7 separate regions of the Homo sapiens genome follow, and all the other regions are linked to region 1. The links are contacts of gene promoters, found by promoter capture Hi-C in blood cells and fetal thymus (Javierre and others, 2016). All regions are on one chromosome and are shown on one strand. The core of a region is centred on a gene start or on the middle of the fragment in contact, and the rest is flanking DNA. Distances in the headings are between cores, read along the strand shown. Region 1 holds the start of VWA5B2 (von Willebrand factor A domain containing 5B2). Region 2 overlaps PARL (presenilin associated rhomboid like). Region 3 has its middle 14 kb from the start of MIR4448. Region 4 overlaps ABCC5 (ATP binding cassette subfamily C member 5). Region 5 overlaps LINC01839 (long intergenic non-protein coding RNA 1839). Region 6 overlaps ABCC5 (ATP binding cassette subfamily C member 5). Region 7 overlaps ABCC5 (ATP binding cassette subfamily C member 5).

What was found. Contacts are between HindIII fragments. The CHiCAGO score rates a contact against its expected background, and 5 or more counts as called.
Region 2: a fragment that was not itself captured here is called in contact with the fragment with the promoter of VWA5B2 in region 1 in 1 of 17 cell types (erythroblasts); the score reaches 5.5 in erythroblasts.
Region 3: a contact is called between a fragment that was not itself captured here and the fragment with the promoter of VWA5B2 in region 1, in 16 of 17 cell types (M2 macrophages, M1 macrophages, M0 macrophages and 13 more). The highest score is 21.6, in M2 macrophages.
Region 4: a contact is called between a fragment that was not itself captured here and the fragment with the promoter of VWA5B2 in region 1, in 3 of 17 cell types (M1 macrophages, M2 macrophages and M0 macrophages). The highest score is 10.9, in M1 macrophages.
Region 5: a contact is called between a fragment that was not itself captured here and the fragment with the promoter of VWA5B2 in region 1, in 1 of 17 cell types (naive B cells). The highest score is 6.0, in naive B cells.
Region 6: a fragment that was not itself captured here is called in contact with the fragment with the promoter of VWA5B2 in region 1 in 1 of 17 cell types (M1 macrophages); the score reaches 5.6 in M1 macrophages.
Region 7: a contact is called between a fragment that was not itself captured here and the fragment with the promoter of VWA5B2 in region 1, in 2 of 17 cell types (M2 macrophages and M1 macrophages). The highest score is 5.7, in M2 macrophages.

The regions. Positions count from the first base shown.
Region 1 is chr3:184,227,256-184,231,376 of GRCh38, reverse strand. It overlaps VWA5B2 (von Willebrand factor A domain containing 5B2), which reads right to left and starts at 1,792. Exons shown (of 20, transcript NM_001390846.1): 1 at 1,664-1,792; 2 at 710-997; 3 at 460-630. The coding sequence starts at 848. RefSeq lists a silencer at 1,685-2,024. The HindIII fragment of the contact is 8,832 bases long and covers 1-2,794 here.
Region 2 is chr3:183,832,209-183,836,329 of GRCh38, reverse strand. PARL (presenilin associated rhomboid like) reads left to right here. Exons shown (of 10, transcript NM_018622.7): 8 at 2,505-2,606; 9 at 2,741-2,838. Among named protein-coding and RNA genes, the nearest start is that of MAP6D1, 8.7 kb to the right of the region's middle. The HindIII fragment of the contact is 651 bases long and covers 1,723-2,373 here.
Region 3 is chr3:183,898,702-183,902,822 of GRCh38, reverse strand. It overlaps the pseudogene CYP2AB1P. Among named protein-coding and RNA genes, the nearest start is that of MIR4448, 14 kb to the right of the region's middle. The HindIII fragment of the contact is 4,315 bases long and covers 179-4,121 here.
Region 4 is chr3:183,921,196-183,925,316 of GRCh38, reverse strand. It overlaps ABCC5 (ATP binding cassette subfamily C member 5), which reads left to right. Exons shown (of 30, transcript NM_005688.4): 30 at 3,916-4,121. The coding sequence ends at 4,017. Among named protein-coding and RNA genes, the nearest start is that of MIR4448, 36 kb to the right of the region's middle. The HindIII fragment of the contact is 3,947 bases long and covers 355-4,121 here.
Region 5 is chr3:184,522,723-184,526,843 of GRCh38, reverse strand. The region is part of intron 6 of LINC01839 (long intergenic non-protein coding RNA 1839); the gene reads right to left. Among named protein-coding and RNA genes, the nearest start is that of LINC01840, 32 kb to the left of the region's middle. RefSeq lists enhancers at 241-1,043, 1,044-1,848. The HindIII fragment of the contact is 249 bases long and covers 1,584-1,832 here.
Region 6 is chr3:183,942,911-183,947,031 of GRCh38, reverse strand. ABCC5 (ATP binding cassette subfamily C member 5) reads left to right here. Exons shown (of 30, transcript NM_005688.4): 24 at 1,093-1,182; 25 at 4,116-4,121. Among named protein-coding and RNA genes, the nearest start is that of MIR4448, 58 kb to the right of the region's middle. RefSeq lists an enhancer at 2,038-2,127. The HindIII fragment of the contact is 3,580 bases long and covers 1-3,040 here.
Region 7 is chr3:183,964,148-183,968,268 of GRCh38, reverse strand. ABCC5 (ATP binding cassette subfamily C member 5) reads left to right here. Exons shown (of 30, transcript NM_005688.4): 12 at 503-574; 13 at 2,768-2,892; 14 at 3,012-3,084. Among named protein-coding and RNA genes, the nearest start is that of ABCC5-AS1, 40 kb to the left of the region's middle. The HindIII fragment of the contact is 6,780 bases long and covers 1-4,121 here.

The DNA of each region.
Region 1 (4,121 bases), core at 543-3,042:
GTGTATGGGGTCGCTGGGAGAGGGATGGAATGGGGTGAGAGCGAGGGCCTTGGCTGCTAGGCACAGGAGTCTACACTTGATTCACTGGCCCACGCGGGGCCGGATTGAGGTGTGCAGCCTAAAATAGTAAGGGGCCGGAGGGGACCACCAGGGGAGAAGGCTCCCTTTGCAGCCCCCTAGAGAGACCGGTCTCCTGGGCTGTAAGGGTTGCTGGCGCCCCCGCAAGCCCTGTGCTGCCTGCTGTGTCTGTCTCCCAGGCTGTGAACCTCCGGGCCATGTTCTCCCAGCACCTGGCGCAGGTCAGGTGCCCAGCCCACGACTGCTAAATACCAGGATGAGCCAATGAATGCACAAGGCAGTGCCCGGAGGAAGGCGGGGGACGGGCGGAGGCCGAGCGGATGCGGGAGCCTGAGCTGCGCCCGGCTTTCAGGAGCGCGGGTGCGGGCGCGCGGAACTCACCCTGCGCGCAGCGGCGGGGCGTCGGGGTCCCCAGCCCCGGGCCCAGAGCGCGGCAGCAGGCGGCCTGCGAGCGGCGCCGGCTCTGCAGCTGGAAGGAGACGCGCCGTCCGGCGGCCTCGGCCTCGAAGCCGGACACCACCTCGGCCTCGGCCAGCGGGTACACGAACACGCCTGGGGAGGGCGGCGGGAGGCGGCGTCGGACCCTGCCCGGCGCACCCCCCGCCGCGCCCGCGCCCCACCCGGGCCTCACCGTCCACCGGCTGCGGCTGCGGGTTGCGGTAGGTGAGCCGGGCCCGCACGCTGAGGCAGGGGCCGTTGGCGCAGGCCCGGACCCAGGAGTCCGTGAGCGGCAGCGGCGTCCAGCTGGAGGGGCAGTACAGGCCGGGCATGGCGCCGGGAGGCCGGCCCTGCGGGAACGGGCCGGGGAAGCTGGGCGCAGGGTGACGGGACGCCCACCCCGCGCTCCAGAGGCCAGCGCGAGAGTCTCACTCCAGCACCCGGACGGGGCCTGCCGGGGCGCGAGGCCGAGCGGGAGCTCCTGAGGGCGACAGGTGGCGGGGGAGATAAGGGGGCGGCAGGCGTGGTGGCGAGGAGGGCATCCTCACGCGTTACCTGGGCAGCCGGGCCGCGGAGGGTTAATGATTAACGCGCGCTTCGGCGCCCAGCAGTCCCGCCGCGGCTCCCCCGGGGGTGGGGGCGGTCACAGCTGTTCCACCGCCCACTCCCAACCTCGCAGCCACCCCCGTACCTGCCGGCCCCCCGGGGCCCCCCGCGGCCGCCAGCTGTCGGAAGCGGCGCGGGTGGAGATGGAAGATGCTCCGGGAAGGCGGAGGTTTAAAGGGCCCGAATCCCCCCGGAGGCCCCCGGCCCTGCGAGGGATCGCGGGGGCAGGGTGGATGGGGCGCCGAAAGGGCCTTGGTCTTTCTCTCCCTGGTGCCTCATCCGACGGGGGTGCTGGCCGGAGTGGAGGGGTTAAGGGTGGGAAGAACGAGCTGGGAAAGCGAAAAGAGGGGGTCTTTGGGAGGCAAGCCCGGGAGAGGTGTCGGGCCAGGGAGAGTCCGTGGGAGCCGCCAGGTTACCGCTCCCTACCCCGGCAGAGCTGATGTGGGAGGAGGGGGCACCTGCAGTGGCCGCGGCCCGCGCAGGGGATGCCGCGGGCTGGCTCTGGGGATCGCCCCGCTCCCTGTGGCAGTCTCAGCCTCACCGTCGCGCCCTCCGCGGAGTTCTAGGTGCCCACGGGATCCGTGTGGGTGGTGCCGCCTCTGCGCTCCGGGTGGCCCTCGGTCCCGGCACCTGCCGGCCGCCAGTTCGTGACTGTGGCTGCAGCGGCTCTGAGTCCCGGCAGGGGCGCGGGCCCTGCCGGCGGTGGTCCCGCCCCCGTTCCGAGAGGCCGCCCCTCCAGCCTGCCCTGGCCACGCCTGCTGCTGCTGCGGCGGGGCTGGCGCTCCCCCCTCCTTCGGGCGCGGTACCGCCTCCGCGCCAGCCGCGGCAGCCCGAGCCAGACTGGGCACCGCAGTGCAGGGACCGCGTCCCCGCCGCCGCACGGATCCCCGTCACTGCAGGACCGAGGCCTCAGAGACCCCACCCTTTCCATTCTTCAGGAATCAGGCGTCCTGCAAGTGCCACCGACACTGCCGCGACCCCAGCTATCCCATTACCACGACGGCATCCCATTCCCCAGCCCACCCCACCCCCTGCCCTGGGTTGCTTCCCATCGCTGCAGAGACCCTCCCTCCTGACTGCAGCGAACCCCCCAGCCCCCCATCACCGTCACCGCAGGACTCTTCCCCCAAGAAGCTGGCCCCTTTCCTTTGCAAAGTGCTCTTCATCACTGCAGAAAACCTCCCCCATCCCTGCAGGTACTTTTAGTTCATGCAGCCACTTCAGTGACCACTCACTCCAAGCAGGGATTCCTCATCACTGCAGCGACCTCCTCCCACCCCCAAGCAGCCGGCCTTGGCATCGCTGCAGTGCCAACCACTTCTGCTGGGGTGGGAGGGTGTGCACAATAGCGCCCTCAGCCTATAACCCCTTGGTCTCTTCAGCTGTGCGGGCCTTGGGAGTGAAGCCTTCTAGCCTGAAGAGCCTTCTTATGGCTGCAGACCGTCCCCTCATAGCAGTGACCCCCACCCATCACCGCAGCCCTGAAGAGAAAACATCTCTGCTTGTCAGGAGGGCCCCTTGTTATTGGCAGACTTTGCATGTGCTTGACAGTGTTATGCTGTCAAAAAGTAGGAAGGTCCGGAAAACCTCTCCCAGGTCCCCCAAGGAAGAGTCTGAGAGCCCTGGGGAAGTGAGAGGAGATGACCATGTTTGGGGATCATCCATGTAAGCTTTTTGGCAGATGCCATACTGAGATTCTGCAGAGAGAGCTTGAGGAGAGCTGGGGATGGAGGACAGCCAGTAGGAAGTGAGCTTTCGAGTCGGGCCCATGGTTCTCACTCCTCCGCATTAACTCTCTCCTTCTGATTTCAATCACTATCACCAGGGATCATCCCCCCGGGGGATCCCTGCCTCCTTGAGTATCTGAGCCCTCAACCCCAACCATCTCCTTTGCTCACCCTACTTAGCATGGTGGAGAGAGCTTGACCTTTTCCCAGGGAATTTCATGGGTGGAAATGCACAGGAATGATACAGGGAGCACAGACACAGTCACACGTACCCAACACACAGGGAGCTCCAGCTGGGTCCTAGCCCTCTTTCCATACTACCTGGGTCATGGTTCCATTCACCTCTCTCCCCCTTTCTCTACTGAGTCTGTTCTCAGCTTCATCCTGAACGAGGGTCCCTCTTTCAGGCCTAGGGAGAAACAGTGGATGGGCTGATGGTCCCTCCAGGTGATCCAGGGCCTCAGGTAGGACCAGCCCTGGCCCTGAGGGCCTCACAAAGGTCCAGGCAGTGGCCACCTTTCCACAAGCACCTTGTGCTCTGCCCCTTCTACAAATGAACCAAGAGCTACATGTAGCCCTTGGACAAACATGAGGTTGCAAATAGCAGTCATTAGGGAGGTCTCCGACACATGGAAATGGAAAAAGAGGTCCTTCTGTTTGGTCCTGAGGAGAGCTTAGATGTAAGACAGCCTCCCAGGAAGATAGCATCCCTATCAGAGACCAGACACACACACTGGCAGAAGTCAAACTTTGCTGCAAAGCTGGACCAACCCTGAGATCTTGCTAGGAAGGTCTCCTTAGCTGAGGCAAATGGAGGGAGAGACAGGTGAATGGCTCCACAAAAAGCATAGGGCACCCTGCAGGATGAGGGGCAGGGGGTGGGGAGCCAGTGCTGGCTGCCTGGCACCTTGGGTGGGGCAGTAAGAAGGGTCTCTGAGGCCCAGCTGGAAGGCCCTCTGGTGGTGAGGCAGCAGCATGACAGCCAAGGGCAGAAGGGGACAGCACAGGAACCAGATTCCAGATCTGAGGCCGGGCTGAGGGATAGCATGGGGTGGGCTACGTGGTAGTCATAGGAGAATAGATGATATAGATGATATACATATAGATATAGATATATAGATATATTTTTTGAGACAGAGTTTCGCCCTGTCGTCCAGGCTGGAGTGTAGTGGAGCGATCTCGGCTCACTGCATGCAACATCTGCCTCCCAGGTTCAAGTGATTCTCCTGCCTCAGCCTCCTGAGAAGCTGGGATTACAGGCGAGCACCAGCA
Region 2 (4,121 bases), core at 799-3,298, 400 kb after region 1:
AATTGTACAGATAACGACAATTTTTTTTAACAGATGGAGAATAATCATCTATGGAATAGTAGTTTAGAAGAACTTCATAGAATTTTTTTTTTTTTTTTTTTTTTTTTTTTTTGAGATGGAGTTTCGTTCTTGTTGCCCAGGCTGGAGTGCAAAGGTGCGATCTCGGCTCGCTACAACCTCTGCCTCCCGGGTTCAAGCAATTCTCCTGCCTCAACCTCCTGAGTAGCTGGGATTACAGGCATGCACGACCATGCCCAGCTAATTTTGTATTTTTAGCAGAGACTGGGTTTCTTCATGTTGGTCAGGCTGGTCTCGAACTCCAGACCTCAGGTGATCTGCCCGCCTCAGCCTCCCAAAGTCCTGGGATTACAGGTGTAAGCGACTGTGCCTGGCAGAACTTCATAGAATTTTAATGCTCTTTCATATCAACTAATCAAATTATATTTGCTTCATTTTGGGGAAACGTGTAATTTTGATTTGTTTTGGGGTTTTTTTGAGATAAAGTGTCACTCTGTCGCCCAGGCTGGAGTACAGTGGCTCAATCTTGGCTCACCACAACCTCAGCCTTCCGAGTAGCTGGGACTACAGGCGCCCACCACCACGTCTGGCTAATTTTTGTGTTTTTAGTAGAGACGGGGTTTCACTATGTTGGCTAGGCTGGTCTTGAACTCCTGACCTCAGGTGATCCACCTGCCTCGGCCCCTCAGAGTGCTGGGATTACAGGCGTGAGCCACCGTGCCCGGCTACAATTATAGTCTCTTGCACAGAAGCCAGCTTGGTCAAAATTCAGGTCTTCTTGGGTCCTCCTTTTGAGGAGTGTTCATGCTGTCCTTCCATCTTGCAGTTACCCTGACTTCTAAGAATGCAACCCGAGCTTGTTTCCCTGTTGAGGCCACTTGGCAGTTATATGAGGGACTGGGGACATCTGAGATCTCTGGGACTCATAATAATTTTCTTTAAAGTTTTAGTAATTCCCCAAATGTAAGATAATCTTGTATTCTGAAGCAACCCGTCACATAGAAGACATTAAGAAAACATTGATTAAGAGAGGTAGATGCTATTTTCCAGAAACAACCGTTTTTATATGAAAAGGTAGGAACCTTTCTTTTTAATGATAGGGGCTTCTTTCAAAAGTTATTTTGCTCTTAGGTGTCTTTTTTTTTTTTTTAAACATCTCATTCATAAATAATTAAAAACTTATGGAAAGTTGCAGGAAATAGTACAGAGGACTCCCATAAAGTCTTTTTTGTTTGTTTGTTTTGTTTTGTTTTGAGACAGAGTCTCGCTGTTTTACCCAGGCTGGAGTGCAGTGGGACAATCTCGGCTCACTGCAACCTCTGCCTCCCGGGTTCAAGCAATTCTCGGGCCTTAGCATCCTAAGTAGGTGGGATTATAAGCATCCGCCACCACGCCCAGCTAATTTTTTTTTTTTTTTTTTTTTTTGTATTTTTAGTAGAGACGGGGTTTTACCACGTTGGTCAGGCTGGTCTCAAACTCCTGACCTCAGGTGATCCACCTGCCTCGGCCTCCAAAAGTGCTGGGATTATAGGCGAGAGCCACTGCACCCAGCCCCATGTAGTCTTTTTAAAAAGCAGGCAACTCAGGTTTACTAGTTAACATGCAAAAAACTGCACATATTTAAAGTTTGGTAAGCTTTGACATGTAGACACCCGTGAAACCATCACCACACTCAAGATCATGGACATATTCATCCCAAAAGCTTCCTAGTGGTCACTCCTTCCTGCCCCTCCTCTACCCCTGGCGACAACTTACCTACTTCTACTAAAGATAAATTAGTTTGCAAATGGAACCATACAGCATATACTAGTATTTGTTGTCCTGGCCTCATTTACTCTGTATAATTACTTTGAGACTCATCCATGTTCTGTGTATCAGTTTATTCCTTTATTATTTTTGAGACAGGGTCTTACTCTGTTGCCCAGGCAGGAGTGCAGTGGTGCAATCATAGCTCACTGTAACCTTGACCTCCTGGGCTTAAGGGATCCTCATGCCTCACACTGTGCTGGAATTACAGGCGTGAGCCACCACACTGGCAATGTTTTGTTTCTTTATGAAGATGAATAAAGATTTCACATGAATTTTTTAAGATGAAACATGCTTCATGCATGCAGGTTTCTTTGGGCGTATTCATGCCCACTCCCTCTGGTTGGAGCTTTGTCAGAGAAGTGTGAGCAGTTCTTTCCTAGGCCATAGGTGAAAGATGCGCATGACACGCTTAGCACTGTCCTTGCGGTTCATGAGGCACATACATCTTACTGCCCCGTAGTAAAAATTCAGTCTTTCCAAGCGATTACTGTGTGAAGGACATTTAGTTCCTTCACCTATTATTGGGGACATAAGTAACTGAAAGCTTTGAAGCTTTGTGCTCACCTAGAAATGTGCAGCATGTAAACTTTCTAGAAAATGTGCTGCTCTTTAGACCTTGTAGCCACTAAGCAGTTGCATATTGAGTTTCCCATTCTCCCTGCTGTGTTACTTTGCAGTCTGGTGCCATCATGACAGTCCTCGCAGCTGTCTGCACTAAGATCCCAGAAGGGAGGCTTGCCATTATTTTCCTTCCGATGTTCACGTTCACAGCAGGGAATGTAAGTATTTTTATGAAGTGCAGTGCTGGGGATAGTGGTGATGTTTTTATGTTGAGTGGGTTCTTGCCCTTAAGTTAGAAATGTCAGTGCTGGAGCAATCACAGTTGTGCCGCTTGTTTCTTGCTGCCTTTCAGGCCCTGAAAGCCATTATCGCCATGGATACAGCAGGAATGATCCTGGGATGGAAATTTTTTGATCATGCGGCACATCTTGGGGGAGCTCTTTTTGGAATGTAAGTTTGAGTGTAATTGATTGCTAAACTGCTTCCTTGGGTCATGCGCTCCTCCTACCCCAGCCTCACCCCTACCCCCCATCCCCATGGCAGAGACATTGAACTATGCAACGGAAGCAGAAGCAGGTGGGCTTGGGAGGGTGAGGAAACCTCAACGTGGCTTGCTTTGGGTTTACCCAGCATACCTGGCTCATTGTAGAGACAGTCTGTGCCTTTACCCTACGCTTAACCTTAAGTTGCCCCAACTGTTGGCCTGTTATTCCCAGCCCCCTCTTAGAAGACTGCAGCCTGGCCCCCAGTCTATGCTGACATCTTCTTTTTCCCCTTCAGACTTTCCTGCCCTCCTCTCCCCTGCCTGGCGTCCCACCCTGCTACCCTGACCTCTGTCTCGCCAGTGCTATTTAGACATGCTGAGTTGGCGGAGCCATTGCTCTGTATGACTGGAGTAGAGGCCGGTGACTGCAAACCAATGTGGACCACTTACTGAGTACCCGCTGTATGCAGGCACCAAGCTAGTTCCCTTATGTTATACTATTACTACTCCCATTTTACTGATGGGAAACTGAGGCTCAGACATCATCTTCCCCAGGCCAAACAGCTCTTCAATAGCAGAGCAGAGCTGTAAACCCACCTCTATAAGCCCTTTCCACCCCCACCACACCATATGGAATTGGTTGCTAAACTGCTTCCTTGGGTCACAGCAAATGGCATTGTGGTTACAAGACCTTCCACGTGTGCTTCAAACAATGGGGTTTTGCCTAGACTAGTGCTTAGTAGTAACTGTATCACGGAAACACGGTCAGGACTCTTGGCGTCCATCTGATCGTGGGAGACCCGTCAGCATGAGCTGGATCCCCTCGGGGCCTGTCTTTTCTTACATAAATGTTGCCTTTTGCCCTTACTTGGTTTTTATTTTGTTCCGCGACAATGGAAAACTTAATTTTTTTTTTTATTAAAAAGAAAAATCTATTCTGGCCAGGTGCAGTGGCTCACGCCTGTAATCCCAGCACTTTGGGAGGCCAAGGCAGGCGGATCACAAGGTCAGGAGATCGAGACCATCCTGGCTAACACAGTGAAACCCCGTCTCTACTAAAAATACAAAAAACTTAGCCGGGCGTGGTGGCGGGCGCCTGTAGTCCCAGCTACTCGGGAGGCTGAGGCAGGAGAATGGTGTGAACCCAGAAGGCAGAGCTTGCAGTGAGCCGAGATCACGCCACTGCACTCCAGCCTGGGCGACAAAGTGAGACTCTGTCTCAAAAAAAAAAAAAAGAAAAATCTATTCT
Region 3 (4,121 bases), core at 1,087-3,586, 330 kb after region 1:
AAGTGCCAAATAAGGAGAGAGGAAGAAAGTTATAAAAATAAGTCAAATCAAGAACAGTTGCCACATATGTACATAAAACTCGAGTCTGAATTTCATTGGAGTGAAGGGAAAAAAGGAAATCTCGATTAATTATGAGTTATTATGTAATAAAAGGAAGCATGCCTGTATCAGGAAAGCTTTGGCTTATCACATGCCTGTAAGTTATGACAAGGATCATCATTCACAATATTCTTTTGTGGGCCAGTGGACCATGTAGTGGCAGTGATTTAAGCAGGAGTTTTTAAAAGATGCAGAAATATTCTTCAAGATGGCAGCTGCTTCTTATCTCAATTCCTTTTAAGAGATAAAATTCCTTTCATTCCTACAGTCAGCCAAAATAACACAGTTGAAGTTTATATAAATAATTATTTATTTTTAACCTCTATTCTTTTTTTTTTTTGAGATGGAGTCTTGCTCTGTCACCTAGGCTGGAGTGCAGTGGCTCAATCTTGGCTCACTGCAGCCTCTGCCTCCCAGGTTCAAGCTATTCTGCCTCAGTCTCCCGAGTAGCTGGGATGACAGGTGTGTGCCACCATGCCCGGCTAATTTTTGTATTTTTTAGTAGAGATAGGGTTTCACCATGTTGGCCAGGCTCGTCTAGAACTCCTGACCTCAAGTGATCTGCCTGCCTCAGCCTCCCAAAGTGCTGGGATTACAGGCATGAGCCACCGCGTCCGGCCAATATTTATTTATTTTTGAGACAGAGTCTTGCTCTGTCACCCAGGCTAGAGTGCATTGGCACGATCACGGCTCACCACAGCCTCTATCTCCCAGCTCAATCGATCTTCCCACCTCACCCTCCCGAGTAGCTAGGACTACAGGCATGAGCCCCCATGCCTGGCTAATTTTCGTTGTTTTTGTTGTTGTTGTTGCTTTGTTTTTTTGCAGAGATGCAGTTTCACCATGTTGCCCAGGTTGGTCTCGAGCATAGTTGAAGATGATAGCTCTCTGGTGATCCAGCTTGAGATAGCTTTCCGAGCAGATTTTTGACGTGAGCTGGACAATAACATGAGGACACCTGCTCTTTGCCCAGGCTTGCTGTGTGCTGAGGGCTTTGTGCCCACGGTGTCATTCGGTACAATGGTGCTCTGTATTGTTGACGGAGCCTTGCAGATCCTAGATGACAGATGTTGAATTACTTACCTATCTTACTGTGTAACAAATTACCCCAAAACTTAGTGGCTTAGAACAACAGCATTTATCATTTCACAGTTTCTGAGGGTTAGGAAAATGGGTGTGGCTCAGCTGGATGCCTCTGACTCAAGGTCTCTCATGAGGTTACCATCAAGTTGTTGTTGGGGCTACAGTGTCACCTGAAGACTCCCCTAGGGGAGGCTCCACTTCAAGCTCACTTACATGGAGGTCTTCAGGACCCGGTTGCTCATGAACTGTTGGCTGGAGACCTTCAGTTCCTTGACACATGGGCCTCTGCATAGGGTAGCTCAAAACATGGCAGCTGAACCCCATCAGAGAGAGCAAGCAAGAGGGCACCCAAAATAGAAGCAATGGTCTTTTTGTAACCTAATCTTAGATGTGATATCCCATTGCTTTTGCCATATTCTTTTTTTTTGAGACAGAATCTCGCTCTGTCACCCCAGGCTGGAGTGCAGTGGTGCAATCTCAGCTCAGTGCAGCCTCTGCCTCCTGGGCTCAAGCAATTCTCCTGCCTCAGCCTCCCGAGTAGCTGTGATTACAGGCATGTGCCACCATGCCTGGCTAATTTTTGTATATTTTAGTAGAGATGGAGTTTACCATGTTGGCCAGGCTGGTCTTGAACTCCTGACCTCGAGTGATTGGCCTGCCTCAGCCTACCAAGGTGCTGGGATTACGGGTGTGAGCCACCGCACCCGGCCGCTTTTGCCATATTCTATTTGTTGGGTTTGTTGTTGTTGTTGTTGTTGGTTTGAGACAGTGTCTCCCTCTGTTGCCTGGGTTGGAGTGAAGGGACACAATAATAGCTCACTGCAGCCTCAACCTCCCAGGCTTGGGTGATCCTCCCACCTCAGCTGCCTGAGTAGCTGGAACTACAGGCACCACATTGTGCCACCACAATGGGCTAATTTTTAAATTTTTGGTAGAGATGGGGTTTCACCATGTTGCCTAGGTTGGTCTCAAATTCCTGGGCTCAAGTGATCCTCCCACCTTGGCCTTCCAGAGTGCTGGGATTCCATGCATGAGCCACTGCGTCTGGCCCATTTTCTATTTGTTAGAAGTGAGTTACTAAATCCATCCTATCCTCAAGGGGAGGGGATTACACAAAGGTGTGTATCCTGGGAGTCAAGGCTAACTGGGGTAACTATCGGGGAATCTGTCCCGATAGTCACGTAGGTTCTTTTCTGTTTTTCCTAAGCGTCGGCCAGCTTGAGAAATAAAGGGACGAGTACAAAAGAGAGAAATTTTAAAGCTGGGCGTCTGGGGGAGACATCACGTGTCGGTGGGTTCCGTGATGCCCCACAAGCCGCAAAAACCAGCAAGTTTTTATTAGGGATTTTCAAAAGGGGAGGGAATGTGCAAATAGGTGTGGGTCACAGACATCAAGTACTTTACAAGGTAATGGAATATCACAAGGCAAGTGGAGGCAGGGCAAGATCACAGGACCACAGGACTGGGGCAAAATTAAAATTGCTAATGAAGTTTCGGGCACCATGGTCATTGATAACATCTTATCAGGAGACAGGGTTTTGAGAGCAACTGGTCTGACCAAAAATTTATTAGGCGGGAATTTCCTCTTCCTAATAAGCCTGGGAGTGCTATGGGAGACTGGGGTCTATTTCACCCCTATAGCCTCGACCATAAGAGACAGGCACACCTAGGGGGGCCGTTTATAGGCCTATACCCCCAGGCGCGTATTCTCTTTCCCAGGGATCTTCCTTGCTGAGAAAAAGAATTCAGTGATATTTCTCCCATTTGCTTTTGAAAGAAGAGAAATATGGCTCTGTTCCACCCGGCTCATCGGTGGTCAGAGTTTAAGGTTATCTCTCGTATTCCCTGAACAATTGCTGTTATCCTGTTCTTTTTTCAAGGTGCCCAGATTTCATATCATTTAAACAGACATGCTCTACAATTTGTGCAGTTAATGCAATTATCACAAGGTTCTGAGGCAACATACATCCTCCTCAGCTGACAGGATTAAGAGATTAAAGTAAAGACAGGCATAGGAAATCACAAGGGTATTGACTGGGGAAGTGATAAGTGTCCATGAAATCTTTACAATTTATGTTTAGAGATTGCAGTAAAGACAGGCATAAGAAATTATAAAAGTATTAATTTGGGGAACTAATAAATGTCCGTGAAATCTTCACAATCCAGGTTCTTCTGCCATGGCTTCAGCCAGTCCCTCCGTTCGGGGTCCCTGACTTCCCGCAACAGGTAACATACCAACATGTGTAGGTGGTGAGGTTGCCATTTTAATGAAAATGAAACAGAGCGACTCATCTTGGTGCCCTGGTGCAGGGTGATGCCTCTGTACATAGAGGTGGTGGCGGGAGCCCTGAGACTTTCCTCGGAAAGGAGCTTTGGCTCTGCCCCGAGTACTGCCCTGGAGTACAGTGGTGTGATCTCAGCTCACTGCAGCCTCCACCTCCGGGGCTCAAGCAATTCTCCCACCTCATCCTCCCAAGTAGCTGGTATTACAGGCACGTGCCACCACGTCCAGCTAATTTTTATTATTTTTATTTTTTTTTTAATTTGTAGTAAAGACGGGGTTTCACCAGGTTGGCCAGGCTGGTCTTGAACTCCTGCCTCTGCCTCTCAAAGTGCTGGGATTACAGGCATAAGCCGCCATGCCCAGCCCCATTATTAACTTATTATTAATTTGCCCAGACTTGAGGTTCCTTCCTCCACAGATTTTTTTCTTCACAGAAGCCCTATCCTTCGGACGCTTTGTTGCTGTTTCTTTTCCATAGATAGAGAAACTTCAGCATAGGCAGCTTAAGAAACTGCCCAAACACAGCTAGTAAGTGACTTAGCTGAGTTTCAAATGCATGTCCCTCTGACTCTAAAGTGTTTTCTTTTCCTACCATATGCCCTGCTGTTTGTATTTATACGAAAATGCCACTCTAGGTAAGTGAACCAATGTGTTC
Region 4 (4,121 bases), core at 1,079-3,578, 310 kb after region 1:
CACTGACTTAAGTCAGAGAGTACATGTACTTAGTGATTCATTCACATACACAATGATCACCCCTGGCATACTTAGGCCAGAGAGTATAGATACTTGTGATTCATTCACATACACAATTATCATCCCTGGTACATGTACTTAGTGATTCATTCACATACACAATGATTACCGCTCCCGGAGGCCTACTGAGACCAGCCAGCACATGTTTGCTTTTTTGCAATCACGCAGCGGCACCAAACTTCTTACCCTGTTGTTTCAGGCGTTCCCACAGCCTGGCCCTAGCCTTGCCTTCTTCATTTTCCACTCTTCCTTTGCAGGTGCGGTTGGCTATAGACATCTTGCATTCTCCAAGCTTTTTATCTGTCTTTAGTCAGATAGTTCCATCTACCTAAAAGGCCCTTTGCCCTTCTCTCTCCCATATCCACCTGCTCTCAACCTGCCTGTCCCTGAAGAATGACATGGCCCAGATGCCAAAGCCTCCATGAAACCCCCTGGCTGCCTCAGCCGCCCTAGACTGTATCTGTACCTCTCTTGTAGCTCTTCTGTCTCAGTTGATAGGAATTGTGCAATGCCCTGTCTCCCTAGAGAACTCCCTGAACGCTCTCTGAGGGCAGAGTCACCGCTCATTCATCTTTAGGGCCCCAGCAGTGCTTAGTACTACAGTTCTTTATACAGGTGATGTTAAGTACATTTATGTTAGACAAATACCTCTTTTGCATGCCCCTAGGATACAAGTAAATTAATAATTTGGAGGAAATAGCAAGCCATTTATAATGGGTAACATGTCTTCTATTGTAGAAGCTCCCACAGTGACAGCTACTATAATAGCTACTTCTACTGAATGTTTACTGTGTGTCAGGCACTGTGCTTAGTGCTTTACATATAATCTCTCAACATACCATCAGTCATCACAACAACCTAGAGAAAGACATAGCCTGGATTCTGCTTTACACATGAGGAGACAAAGTCTCAGGGAAAGTCCATAGGAAGTGGAGTAGGCCGGGCACGGTGGCTCATGCCTGTAATCCCAGCAGTTTGGGAGGCCGAGGCGGGCAGATTGCCTGAGCTCAGGCGTTCAAGAGCAGCCTGGGCAACATGACGAAACGCCGTCTCTACCAAAAATACAAAAAATTAGCCAGGAGTGGTGGCACACACCTGTAATCCCAGCTACTAAGGAATTTGAGGTGGAAGGATCATTTAACCCTGGGAGGCAGCGGAGGTTGCAGTGAGCTGAGATAGCGCCACTGCACTCCAGCCTGGGTGACAGAGTGAGACCTCATGTCAAAAAAAAAAAAAAAAAAAAAAAGCAAACAGTAAAAATTGGTGGGATTTAAAAAAAAAGGAAGCGGAGGAGATGGGACAGGACTCAGGCCAGCAACCGCACTGCCAGCACACTGTCTAAATTGTGGAGAAATATTGAGAAAAGGTTAAATAGCGCAGGTTCAGCCTGGGCTTCAAAGCTGAATTGAGAGAACTTGGGGGCTAAGGATTTTTCTCCTCATCTTGAAATTATTTTCACACTAGTGTTTTTTGTGACTATCTTTGTTTGCCTTAAACTAAGTGTTGACTGAGATTCTGTCATACATAAGATACGTTGAGCTACTACTTTGTAAGTAGGTGTTAAAATAGAGCCTAGTAAGGTATAATAGATGGGACCAAGAACATCTTCTGGGAAATTCTTTTTTTCTTTTTTTGAGCCAGAGTCTCGCTCTGTCGCCCAGGCTGGAGTACAGTGGTGCAATCTTGGCTCACTGCAACCTTCGCCTCCGGGGTTCAAGCGATTCTCCTGCCTCAGTCTCCTGAGCAGCTGGGAGTACAGGCATGTGCCACCATGCCTGGCTAATTTTTGTATTTTTAGTAGACACAGGGTTTCACCATGTTGGCCAGGCTGGTCTCGAACTTCTGACCTCAGATAATCCGCCCACCTCAGCCTCCCAAAGTGCTGGGATTACAGGCACAAGCTACTGTGCCCAGCTGGAAATTTTTTCTTAAGAACACAAATTGAGACCCCTTTCTTTCGATGGGTGGCTTGATGTTTTGGAGTGGGGAGCCCATTCACTCTTTATGAGGGACTCTATCCTTCTCTTCCCTTAATTTTTTTCTTGCTAATTAAAATTTCCTTGTAATTTCAGGAAAGCCTAAAAAAAAAAAACCACACACACACCAGAAAAGCATAAAGGCAAAAACAGGATGATAAGCCATTTACCCCCAGAGACGAGCATTGTAATACACTGACTTACCCCAGCTGTGTTTTTCTTGCATCTGCACACACAGACTCCAACAGATGGGATGCTCTCTGCCGCAGACACAAAATACCAGACTAAAAGGGGTTTGGAGGATGGGATTTTGTTATCCCACATGGGTTGGTTTTTGTGCAGCTCAGCAGTGTGGGGCTCTGTATCACTCTCAGCCAGTACTCACCTTCCCCTGCTGGTACAGGATGCCTGCTCAAGCACCCAACCAAAGGAAGGACACGTGTCCAAAGGAAGGACACGCTTATGTTCTCCTTGTGGCCTGTCCACTGAGCAGGACACCCTCTCCTAAAGCACCAAGGAGACTTCCTCTTACATCTCCTTAAACAAGGTTATGTTCCATGCCTTTGCCCTGTGGCGGGGGCGGCTGAGAAAGTTGAGTACATGCATTTCAGCCTCTGCCACAGGAGGTGGGTTCTGCCAGCGTATCATTCAGGGTTCTGCTGCCACATGATTTTCCACGGCTACATAGAAGTCCATCATAGGAATGGCCACCTGACTAAGTCACTCCCTGACTTCCTTTTTCTCCCCTGACAACTAGACATTCTGAGCTCTTCCATTTCCCTCTATAAGGTTAGATCAGCTTGCATAACAAAATGGCATTTGTCTGGTGTGCCCTTGACTTGAGCTGCAACTTCTCTCCCCTGCAGTTTATTTATTTTATTTTGTTTATTTATTTATTTATTTTTTTGAGACGGAGTTTCGCTCTTGTTGCCCAGGCTGGGAGTGCAATAGCACGATCTCTGCTCACCACAACCTCCGCCTCCCGGGTTCCAGCGATTCTCCTGCCTCAGACTCCCCAGTAGCTGGGATTACAGGCATGCACCACCACACCCAGCTAATTTTTGTATTTTCACTAGAGACAGGGTTTCACCATGTTGGTCAGGCTGGTCTCGAACTCCTGACCTCAGGTGATCCGCCTGCCTCGACCTCCCAAAGTGCTGGGATTACAGGCATCAACCACCGCACCCAGCCTGTTGTTTTTTATTTATTTATTTATTTATTTATTTATTTATTTATTTATTTATTATTTTGAGGCAGAGTCTCGTTGTGTCGCCCAGCCTGGCATGCAGTGGTACAATCTCAGTTCACTGCAACCTCCACCTCCTGGGTTCAAGCGATTCTCCTGCCTCAGCCTCCCAAGTCACTGGGATTGTAGGCACCCGCCAACCATGCCCAGCTAATTTTTGTATATTTAGTAGAGACAGGGTTTCACCATGTTGGCCAGGCTGGTCTTGAACTCCTCACCTCAGGCAGTCTGCCCACCTCAGCCTCCCAAAGTGTTGAGATTACAGGCGTGAGCCACCAGCCTCCTGCAGTTTATAGACCTGGTTGGTTGGTTCCTTCACTCCCAAGGCTGAAGGAATTTGGATTTATGTGAAGGAGGTCTGGAAGTCGTTTTCTTTTTTTTTTTTTGCTATGATACTACTTTATTAGGCAAAACCACATACTACAAAAATGCTGGAAGTCATTTTCTCTGTCCTTTCCCTTACTCCCTGGATAGTTGAAAATAAAAAAATAAGGGGGGAGGTGCACGCAGGGCTAGTTGAATTGTCCCCAGATTCTACCCTCAGAGGGCACTGGCACTTACTGAGCCGTGGATCCTCTGAATCACCCTGCATGACCCAGAGCTGTGTCCTGACGGCGTCTCCTTCTTTTGCAGGTGGTGGAGTTTGACACCCCATCGGTCCTTCTGTCCAACGACAGTTCCCGATTCTATGCCATGTTTGCTGCTGCAGAGAACAAGGTCGCTGTCAAGGGCTGACTCCTCCCTGTTGACGAAGTCTCTTTTCTTTAGAGCATTGCCATTCCCTGCCTGGGGCGGGCCCCTCATCGCGTCCTCCTACCGAAACCTTGCCTTTCTCGATT
Region 5 (4,121 bases), core at 459-2,958, 300 kb before region 1:
CATTCTAAAGGCTCCCATGTCACATAAACTGTGATCAAATAAATTTGTATGCATTTTTTCCCGTTAATCTGCCTTTTGTCAGTGATTTTTAGTAAACCTTCAAAGGAGGCTTTCCCTTGACTCCTACACTCTCCTTGAAATAAGTAACTTCTACGGTTTTGCGAGAATCTTTTTTCTTACAATAGGAATGTATGTTTACTGAAGAAAATTCAGGAAATAGAGATAAGCAAAAAGTAGAAAATTTAGATCGACTAGAATCCCATCTCTTAGGGAAAAACATAGTTGGTGTTTTCTTGTTTTTTGCATCTTATTTCCTGCATATGTATATGTGTTTGTGTGTTTGTGTAAGAAACACATTTTTCAAAGAACCAAAATGGGCTCATCCCACACCTACTGGTTTTCCCTTTACCGTACAATCTAAAGCTAGCTCTACATCAATAGCAGGAGCCAGGGGGCTTGTGAGAAGAGCAGAATGTCAGGCCCGAACCGGAATCTGCATTTTCGTAAGCCCCCTAGAGGATTCCTGTGCCCCACACACTCTGGGGAGCATCGCCATTTTTAATGGCCACAGAGTCTCCCAAACAGGGCTAGACCGTGATTCACTCATTGCATCTCTCGGTGGTGAGGATTTTCCCTGTAACAAGAAGCTGGTCCCTCTGGGATCTCTGGGCTCTTCAGACCCTCCCCCTCAGTCCGTGCCCAGGAGACTCCAACAGCTGGGCAGGCGGCGTCCTTGCCCGTCCTCCACGGGCGAGATGCGCTGTCCACCTCCGCCCTCCTCTTGCTCCACCTGGCCAGAGGCCTGGGCTGCGCGCTCCCCGCGCTCCTGCGCAGGCTCTACTGGGAGCCCCTCCAGGGCGCAGTCCGGACCTGACGGGCAAGCCCTGACCTGCCTTTCATCCCGCTGATGCTCGCGCCCAGCTCCCTGTGAATACCCACTGATTGCCCCCGGAGTCTCCCCGTTAGGCCCTCCCGCACCTCTTACCCCTTCCTCCCCTTCCTGGCCTCCCCAGCTCCCTCACCCGCCTTCTAGAAGCATCCTCCCCCTTCTCACCCACCTCTCTACTCCTCCCTTCCCGACTTCCTCAATTCCCACCTCCCCCCCAAATTCCAGTCCTCTCCCTGGGAAAGAGAAAGCGGCCGGGGTCCCACCCTGGCTGTGTGTGGCCCGCGGTGGGGTGGGGCAGCCTGCCAGCCGCCAGGTAGCGCGAATGGAGCGCGGGGCGCCGCGCGCTGCGGGCGGGTGAAGCCGGAATCGGGGCGGCGGCTCGGCCCCCGGCCCCCGGCCCCGGGGAGCCCAGAGCGACTAGTCGGGCAGGAAAAGAATGACGGTGACGTGACCACTCTGACCCCGAGGACTCTCTGGGCTCTGGCGGGCGCTGGGCTCGGCGGATCTGAGTGCGTAGGAAGGGCGATGGGCGCTCAGTCCCCGAGGATCACCTGCGGGACCCTTTGGGGGCACCTGCCGGAGCAGCTGGCCCTGCGACGGGTCCCACCGCGCCCTCAGCAGCAAGGCGGTTCTCCCTTTATAGAGGTTTTACGTGCGTTTGTGGGGGGTGTTCTCAAAACAATACAAATAAGCTTCCATTGTCACCGATCAAAATAGTAAGGGCTTTTTAAAAGGAAACTGTTTAGGGCTGACAGAGCTACAGAGGAAGTGGAGTGATCCGGGCACAGTCAGGGACGGGGGAGGGGGGCGGAACTGGTCTAGCTGTTTTGGCAAAATGTAATAATACAGAGTTAGAGTCTTTGAATGCTCACACTGTTTGATATTGTGGTTCTAGTAGTGGTCATGCATCAGAAGAAATAATCCCAAATATTCCCCCAAAGCTTTTATGGACACAGACATTCTTTGCACTGAAAAATGAGAAAAAAAATTATCTAAAATTGGAATCAACTAGTTGGGCACTGATAAATACATTATGGTGTATCCACAGTTGTGATATCATTCTGTCATTGATAACATTTCTGAAAAGTTTTCGATAGTATAAGGAAATTTTCTCATTCTGTAAAAGGCACAAGGTGAGTTTGTATACACAAGATAATCACAAGTATATAAACTAAGCATAGTGGAAAGACTGGAAGAAATACATTTTAAATAGGAATGGGTGCTTTTTTTTTCTTTTGAAAAAACTTTTTTATGAACTATTTCAGATACATATCAAGGTATAGAGAAGAACTTACCCATCAATAATCATGGGGAATGGAGCAACCTCACTGCTGAAGCCCCTTAGGGACCCTCTTCACCACCTTCCTCACCCTCATCCCTGAGGTGACTTCTCACTATCTTTATTACATATGAGTGGATTCCTAAACATTATATAAGTATTTCAAACTTGACATATATGACAAAGTATTATGCACACTCCTTTGACTTGCTTTTTTAAGTCAACTTGGTGCTCTGGGGATTCATCCATGTCGACTCATGTTGATGAATCTGGCTCTGGTTCATTCAGTAAATATGACTTAATATTTCTCAAAAACGTAGAGCAGAGCCTGGCACATGGCACTACATATGTTTGTTGTTTTTTAAGAAATAAAAAATCATTTTCACTGCAGTATAGTAGACTTGTTAATATCATACTAAATGTATTGATCCATTCTCCTGCTGTGAAAATTTAGAATGTTTCCATTTTGTTCTTATTACAAACAGTGCCGCGATGAACATTCTGGTCTGTGTCTTCTTGTGCACATGTGAGTTTCTATGGAGTGCACCTAGCATTGGCCACAGACATTGCAAGGGATGCCTAACTTCAGTGCTACAAATTACTGCCCAGTCGTTCTCCAAAGCGATCTTGCCAGCAGCAGATGAGTCATTGTAGTAACACTCCCAGCCCTCAACACTGCCTCTCATCACGTCAGTTCTTTTCCAGTGTAATGGGTGTGGTTACTTCTCATGGTTTAAATTTGCATTTCCCTAATTACCATGGGGTTAGAGGTCAGGCATTTGTTCCTATGTTTATTGGTATTTTTTATACTGTAAAGTCTTGATCATAACTTTTTCCTATTTTTCTATTGGTTGTTGACATTTTCTTGTTGGTTTTTAAGAATTCTTTATAAATTTTGTATCTTAATCTTTCATCAGATGGATGAGTTGCAAATATTGTCATTCACTCCATGGCTTATCTTATAACTATTTGTGATGTCTTTCAAGACACAGAAAATTTACATCTGCACATATTCTAATTTACCTCTTTCTTTAAAGTTTGTACTTTGGTTGACATGGTTAAAGTACCTTTTCCTCTTCCAAGATATAAGTTTCCCTACACTTTCTTCTAAAAGTTTTTAAATTTTGTCGTTTTATATTTGGTCTTACATCTATCTGGATTTGATTCTTTGTAAAGGTGTGGTGGAGAGATCATCTTTCTCCTTGGATAATAATTGTCAAAGCATTTATTGGACAGCTCATCCTTTTCCAGTCATCTGCAATGCTGGCTTTGCCATAAATCAAATTTCCCAGTAAGTGGTGGTCTGTTTCTGGGTTCTCTATTTTGTTACATTGTTCTGTCCTCTAGCAATACTGCACTCTCACATACTATAACTTGATAATAAGTCTTGATTTCTGGATGAGCATGTATTCATACATTTTTTTTTCAAGACTATCTCAACTATTTGGAGTTCTCTGCATTTTCATACATATTTTAGAATTAGCTTGTCAGTTCTATAAACATTTTGTTGGGATTTTGATTTAAACAATGACTTCCTAGGTTAATTTAGGGAAACTGACATCTTCATGATATTGAGTCTTCCTATTGATAACCATGGAATATGTCTCATTTATTTAGGTCTTCTTCAAAATCCTTCAATAAAGTTTTTCATATATATCTAACATCTTTTGTTACATTTATTCCTAGATACTTGATTTCTATAAAATTTCAGCAGTCTCCAGGATTTACTTTCATAATTGGAAAACAACACCTTTACGTATGGTTTTAATTGTAAACCTTTTCAGTTATAATCCTTAAAAGTATTTAATGATTTGTATCAACATGCAGATTGGGGTCATGGGAAGATGGCCTCTACAGTGAGTTTTCTCCAGTTTGACAAAAAGTATTAGAACCTTTGGAGAAAGGAAGAAAGCAGGAGAATTTTTATGCACTTAAGAATTTACAAAGTTTATG
Region 6 (4,121 bases), core at 1-2,500, 280 kb after region 1:
TAATTGTGGGTTTCTGTGTTCACCACCATTTCATCTCTGGCCTCTTTCTAGTCTTCTAAGAAATGTTATAGACTCAATATGCTTCTTACGTGCATTTTCTTCTCAGGGCCCTGATTTTCCCAATACTGTTATATACATAAAACCTTCTAGCCCCTAGGGGTGATTGAGGGTCTTCAAATAGCTCAGAGAATAGTTGAGAACTTGAGCACTGACTAGATATTTTAAGATGTTGAGTGATTATTATTACCCTCTAAAATAATGGTATTGGAATTATGTTTTTAAGGAGTCTATATTTTAGAGAGGTACAAGCTGAAATATTTGGATGAGATAAGCTCTCTGCGATTTGCTTCCAAATAATATGGGGGGTGGGGGTAGGAATGGAAGGGAATACAGATGAAACAATATTGACTGTAAGTTGATCATTTTTATGGTAGAGTTTTGGTACCTGGGAGTTCATTATACTACTCTTTCTACTCTTGTGTGTTTGACATTTTTCTTTATTGAAAAGATAAAAATAAATAGTCAAAGGAACCCCAGAGATATGTGTCTTCACAGATACCCCGAGATGTCCAGCCACATTTTGCAATTTACTTGACAACTGGTTGGGGAAGACAATGCATTATATAGACTGTTTTTAGACTCCGCAGTCTATGGAGCACAGGGGCTCCAGACTCACTCATTTCCCAGCATTATGTATCTGATTTGACTTTCCTGGAAACATTCTTACTAGTTGCTCATAGGTTGATATCTCCATTTGTTGTGACTCCCACAAACAGGCTCAGATACAAGTAGGAAGTCCAGAAGTGAATCAGTTGCAGATATGTGTTATTGGAAATGTAAAGATGAATAGAAAGGCTTTGGGTACAAGGAAGTGGTTCCAGCAGTGCCATGATACTGCCCGCATTCACTGAGCATTGCAGTTGATGGGGTAACAGGTATGCCTTAAAAGCCAAGAGAATGACTAGGTCCCTAAGACCAGCTGCTGCATGTGCTCAGTTCTTAGTAGTCCTCTAGATGAAGGAAGTTCTCCAGCATTGGCCTGGCGTGTATTGATAATGAATTATCTCTTTGATTGTTGTTTTCCATTATCAGTTAACGGGGCTGTTCCAGTTTACGGTCAGACTGGCATCTGAGACAGAAGCTCGATTCACCTCGGTGGAGAGGATCAATCACTACATTAAGGTCAGACTGCTGTAGGCCTTTTACCGTGATCTGACTCCTCTTGGAGTCGGTTTACCCTTTGCTGCCTCAGCTGGGTGTACAAGGAGGAGGCTTGTGTTCTCTGCCTATCTAATCCCACAGAATCTCCAGCAATCTCTCAACCGTGCTTGGAATGGGAAAGAGATTACCGTAAGAGTTTCTAAGTATATTTGTAAATTATGTCGAGCTGAGAACTTCATTGGCTAATTTCCAGAATGTTCAGAACCTTGTCAGTTCAGCTTAACTGACTAATGGAGCATTTTCCTTACACTGTTTAAAACCATGTATTGTTTTAATTCTTACTATGTCCAATTGTTCTTAATCAGGGATGGCCATCAGGACCCCCTGCTGAGCTTTTGGCAGGACAAACGTGGCCTCATCTCTGGATTCTGTTGCAGTGGATTGGGGTGGGACCCAGGCTTCTATAGTTTGAAAAGCTCCATAGCGAATTCTAAACTGCTCTCCCAACTTACAAACGAGTAAATTTAATTGATACCAGAGTATCCAGCTCTTCCCACCTTTCCCCAGGAACCCCTTCCGTCTTGCCGTGGGTGGCAGGCATCTTGCTGCTGTCCTAACTGGCACTCTTAAACAATTTCCTACAGGGATGTCTTAATCCATTTCACACTGCTGTAAAGAACTACCTGAGATTGGGTAATTTATGAAGAAAGAGGTTTAAGTCACTCACAGTTCCGAAGGCTTAACAGGACGCATGGCTGGGAGGCCTCAGGAAACTTACAATCATAGCGAAAGGTGAAGGGGAAACAAGCACATCTTCCCATGGCAGAGCAGGAGAGAGAGAGAAGGGGGAAGTGCCACACACTTTCAAACAACCAGATCTCCTGAGAACTCACTGTCACGGGAACAGCAAGGGGGAAGTCCACCCCCCTGATTCAGTCATCTGCCACCAGGCCTCTCCCCTCACACATGGGGATTATTATACAATTCGAGATGAGATTTGGGTGGGAACACAGAGCCAAACCACATCAAGGGGTGTCCAATCATTTGGCTTCCCAGGGCCACATTGGAAGAAGAATTGTCTCAGGCCACACATAAAATAATACTAACGATAGCTGATGAGCTTAAAAAAAAAGATGGCAAAAAAAAGTCTCATAATATGTTAAGAAAGTTGACGAATTTGTGTTGGGCCACATTCAAAGCTGTCCTGGGCTGCATGTGGCTCAAGGGCCACAGATTGGACAAATTTGCTTATAAAGAAGCAGCATCATGAGTAGTTAGATTCTCAAATTGAACTCAATTCTTAAGAGTTATCTATTTTATTGAACTGCTGTGAGACTTTACAAGCATCTGTGTCATTGTTTATATGTGAAGAGTATATTCTGAGTTCCCAACACTTGACTTTGAAACATAGTTTTGAAAAGTTAGCTTTTTTTCTTTTTTTCCTTTTTTAATTTATTTTTTATTTTTTTATTTTTTTTGAGAGAGGGTCTTATTGTCACCCAGGCTTGAGTGCAGTGGCATGAATACGGCTCAGTCCAGCCTCGATCTCCCAGGCTCAAGTGATCCTCCCACCTCAGCCCCGCCAAGTAACTGGGACTACAGGCATGCGCCACTAGGCCCAGCTCATTTTTGTATTTTTTGTAGAGATAGGTTTCGCCATGTTGTCCCGGCTGGTCTCAAACTCCTGGGCTCAAGCGATCTGCCTCTGCCTCCACCTCCCAAAATGCTGGGATTATAGACAGGAGCCATAGTGTCCGGCCTGAAAAATTACTCTTTCAATTGGGAACTGAGTGTACGTAAACTGGATTCTCTAATAGAGATGTGCTTCACTGATTGTTTTGACAGTGAGCCTCATTAGTGGTAGAATATTTCTTAAGCTTACAAATGAATAACTTTCTTATTCTCAGAAAGGATGGCAGGTGGCTGCCCAGTGTATCTAGTAATAGCTCTTCTTTCATGTTTAGAAGTTAGCCTCTTTGCACACTGTCCTGGTGTGTAGATGACCCGTGTGTGTACATATGTGCAGTGTTTGAGTTAATGTTATGGTTGGCGAGAGCCTTGTGCTGGAGAGGTTAGGATTACGGTCAGTGGTGGTACAAAGTGGACCCTGCTGAAACCGGTCACATTTCAGAGGCCTGCCCTCCCACTGACTGTCCCAACACAGAGTCCTTCCAGCTTGGAGTTTTAGACTTTAGGCTTAACCCCCCAGAGTGCTACAGTCTTTGGCCCTTACTTCCCCCCATAAGGCTATATACTCCATGGCCAATTGCCAGAGAGTTTTAAAAGATCATGAGATATGATTGTTGATGATAAAAATTACCCAAGCAGTTATATCACAGCATTTTGAGCTGGAATAGATTCTCAAGATCATCTAATCCAGTCCCCACAATTTGCAGATAAGAAACTAAGATGCAGAAGAAGTGGTGATCTGTCCAGGTCACACAGTGGCAAAATTAGAATTAGAGTCTGTGTCTCCTGGATTGACCAAGACATGCCAGAATGCCAGGATCCAATCAGATGTTCAGTAAATATTAGTTTTCTTCCTTTGGATTTAAGCCAATGATTATCAAATGGTAGAATCCTATCTCAAAGAATTTCAGTAAAAACTGCTGTGGTGGAGGGGTGGAAGGCCTCATGTCTGCCCGTGTTGGTTTTCCTTTGGCCCCCAAGGCAGCTTTGTGGAATAGTTCCTTGAGACAAAAGGTAGTCTGAACACCACTTCCCTCCCCAGGCTGCTGCTAGTAGCCATGACACTTAGCCATTGTGCTCTGTCTCTGTCGAGTTTAGTGATGATAAGCATTTACTTCCAAGGGATTCTTTCCTAGCAAGGTGACAGGGTGGCAGCTACCTCTGTGTGGCTACTATGGTTGTCCTGGTTTTATTTCTCTGTGACAAAGCCTGCAGCTCCCCAAGAATCTGTGGTCAGTCTGAACTGGCCACCCTTGTCTCCCCAGACTCTG
Region 7 (4,121 bases), core at 587-3,086, 260 kb after region 1:
GTGTAGTGGTGCATGCCTGTAACCCCAACAGGAGAATTGCTTGAACCCGGAAGCGGAAGCTGCAGTGAGCCAAGATCGCACCACTGTACTCCAGCCTGGTTGACAGAGCAAGACTCCATCTCAAAATAATAATAATAATAATAAAATGATTTTTAAAAGCCCTACCCTGTCTTCTAAAAAATGACAAAAACAAGTAAATGAAGAACATGGGTTAGCAGCAGAATAGGAAAGAGGCTGGGCCTAAGAATGACGGTGGGATACTGGAATGTGTGCGGCATATTTACTTTCCCCAAAGGGCTTCCATTCCTGTTATCTCAGGTGTCTCCACAGAAACCCATGAGATAGGCAGCTAATGAGTGAGAAAACAGGTAAGTGGCCTGCTGAGTCATCAGGGTGACAGTTCTGTATGGGTAGACTACAGTTAATGTGTTTTTCCTCAAGTCCTTAGCGATGAGTGGTTAGTAGTCTCTAAATGACCCTCCTCTCTGTGTGCCTTGTCCAGGGTAAACTGGTTGGAATCTGTGGCAGTGTGGGAAGTGGAAAAACCTCTCTCATTTCAGCCATTTTAGGCCAGGTAAGATTTTTGTTATTGTCCTTTTCTGCTGCTTTCTCTGGTTTGCAAGAGTCTCAGGAAAAACGAACAAATTTCCTGGAGAGTCAGGAAAGGTGGAAACAAATGAACCCTCAGCCTGCATTGTATGCCCCCAATCCCCCGCAGTTCCCCCCAGTTCTCCCCCTTCACAGCCTTCTGCCTGGAAGGAGGCCTGGTGGGCGCCTGATGGATGACTGACTGTTGTCCCAGCTGGAACCATTTGGTCTCATGCCTTCTTTCATTCAGCATGTATCTATTGAGTGCCACAGGTATGCCCGTGTATTGAAAATGTCAGAGATAAGAGATGAGCAGACACCCTACACTGCAGCGCTGCCAACAGAGTTAACCTGTAAAGAAGCAGGGCGGCCAGCACTCCCAGCCTCTCTGTCAGACAGGACTGTCAGGGTTTGATCTAGAAGCAAAGCCCCTCTGTTTTCTGCCTAATCCCTGAAAGAGTCATGCCCTTGGGGAGTTCATGGTCCAGTGGGGAGCAAGGCCTTGAGAACACAACAAGCACATCTCCAGGCAGGGAGTGAACAGCGTGCAGGGCCCAGCACACGGTGGCCAGTGCTGAGAGTGAGGGACAGGATGGGGCCGGAGTCATCCCACTGAGACACACTATCATTGCTGTGTTTTAGAATCAAACAATCCAGAAAAAAAAAAAAAACAAGGTGCCCACATGCTTTTACATTAGAATTAAATTAACTTGACTTAGATGGTTGAGATGAGCATAAACTTATGATTATCTCTACACCCTGATGGATAAGGTCCACTGAATTGAAATGAAACAGAGGGGGAGCAGGGGTGCTTTTGTAGCCCCCAGATTATGGAATGCTTTCTTGTCTTGTTTGGCATCAGCTGTCACAGTTGGTGAGTTGTGGTCCTCCTTGAGGGTGGTGGTGCCTGGGGCTGTCTGAGTCAGATCATGGCAGGCATCACCTCCACCTTCTGCTTTATGACACTCTCCAGTGGCTGGGCCCAGCCATTGGTCTTGTAAAAAGCACCAGACTTCCTAGGTGATTTATGATGACCAACCAGATTTGGAGGGCCAGTGAGGAGAGACAGAGATGGGGGGAGGGGGAGAAGGAAAGAAAAGGTCAATTCGTAAGTGCTGCTCTGCCATCTAGCAATGTGCTCCTTTTTCCAGGGTTGACTAGGCAGTGGTTAGGTTGAAAACCAAGTCAGGCTTTGCTTCTGGACAAATCCTGGCAACCCTGTCTCTGGCAGGGAAACGGGTTGGGCTGGTCAGCCCTGCTTTAACTGTAGTTTACATCTGTTGATAGCGCTGCAATGTGCGGTGTTTGTGCAGCAGCCAGAAGTGCCGGCTTTCCACAGTAGACCCCCTGGGGACTTCTGAACCCTTTGAAGTGCACATCAGAATGCTACCAGTTTGTGGTGTACGTAGGTACACCTGTGTGTGTACACGCTGTGTGAGGGTGTTTGAGAAGACCAGCTTATATGAACAAGTACTGCACAGGCTGGTTAGTGAAACTTTGCTTCAAAGCTGTAGCATCCCTAAACCAAGACAAATGTCTACTATCAGTCCCAAACAAAAGAAATCATGGAAGGGGGTAAAATGGATAAGTCAATTCATATCAAACCATTGCAACTGAACACAAACTTCAAAGCACATGGTTCATCACTGCTTGTGGGCAGGCAAGGTCCATCATTGGTAAATGGACACTGTGTATATATTATAAATACTAGGTGATGTCTAACCTGGACTTTTTTTTTCCCTTGGTCCTCATTTCATAGAAGCAACTGGTCTAGCCAGCATCCTAGGTAATTGCCTTGGATGAGTTGGCCTGCCCCCATGTTGAGGCAGGGATTAGCTGGAAACCCCTACAGCATCCTCTCCAGGAGAATTCTGCAAGAACCTCTTGCTTGTGCTTCTCCTAATTTAAACAGTTTGCACACAGCAAATGGGCTGCAGAGGGAAGTGTTTGCCTTCAAGTTATGGGTTATGCTGAGCTCCCATCACACATAAGCAAGGAGAACTTTGATTTTCTTTGCTGCTTAGCTCTCTTTGGAATTAAAGGTGGAATCTGGATTTGGGTCCAAAAAGCATCCCGGGAAATTACCAGAGCTAGATTCCATTGTGGAAGGTGGGGGTTCCGTTGGCATAGGGTGATGGTTTTGAGTTATGATGCCATTGGATGGTGTCTCTCTCCCTAGATGACGCTTCTAGAGGGCAGCATTGCAATCAGTGGAACCTTCGCTTATGTGGCCCAGCAGGCCTGGATCCTCAATGCTACTCTGAGAGACAACATCCTGTTTGGGAAGGAATATGATGAAGAAAGGCAAGGAATGTTTGGCTTCTGTCATGCTTTCCATCTTGGCCGCGTGAGATGCAAGGCAGCCCTAGTCAGCAGGCTCTGCTCCCGCCGTGTCCCTGACGCTGTCTCTTTGTGTCCTCCAGATACAACTCTGTGCTGAACAGCTGCTGCCTGAGGCCTGACCTGGCCATTCTTCCCAGCAGCGACCTGACGGAGGTACAGGCCTTCCGCCCCTGACCAGGCATTTAGCAGAGTGGCAGAGCTGGGCCAGAGCTGCTCCTGGGAGTGCAACTGAAATGCTTGGGAGAAGAGCCTCACAGGGAGTTAGGCTGTCATTAGGCCTTTGTGTTAGGAAAGCATGTGTCCATTAGGGCAGGGATGTTAACACTGCTTGTTTTAAGGTTGTAAGTATTTTCTGTGTCTTGGGGATTGTAAACAAAATCCCATTGTTGACTCAGAGTTGATGTTTTTTATTCTATCCAGATATTTTTAAAACTACAAGTAAGCGTGTGCATGTTGAGCATCTTCCTTGAACTTGATTTTGCCAACCTCCTTAACTCAGATAGTCTGTAGAGAGCCCTTTTCTATTAGAAAGAGCCCTTAGAACAAATCCACATTTCTTTGGGTCTCTGCCCTGCAGCAGTTTCCAGAGGCTTGTCTTTGGAACTAATTTGTGCTCTTCAGTGTTAAAACTTGTCTCCCATGAATTGCCCTGAAGGTCTCTGGGATTGGCACCTTTATTTAGCTGATTTCAGTTAAATCCCTCAAACCAGATTTGGTGAATGGTTTAATTACTTTAGAGGTCCTTAAATCCATGTCCCCAGATCAGCAGCATCAGCATCAGCATCATCTGGGAACTTGTTAGAAACACAAATTCTTAGGCTGTTCTCCAGACCTACTGAATCAGAAACTCTAGGGGTGGGGCGCAAAGGTCTGTTTTAACAAACCCTGCAGGTAATTCTGATGCAACTTCCAGTTTGAAAACCTCTGAATTAATTGAATATTTGACAACTGATTTATTCATTTAATCATTTAGTAACATTTATTAGGTGTTTATTATGTGCCAGTGACATGTGCAGACACTGTTTGGCACTAAGAATATAAAGGAATAAGACAATAATCTGCACGTAAAGAAGTGTACAGTTAAGAGGATGAGATACCCAAACAAATAGGCACAAAATAATCTGATGAAAAGAGCCCCATCTCTTTGGGGTACTAGCGGGAAAGAGGTTGGGGGAGATTTCAGAGGAGAT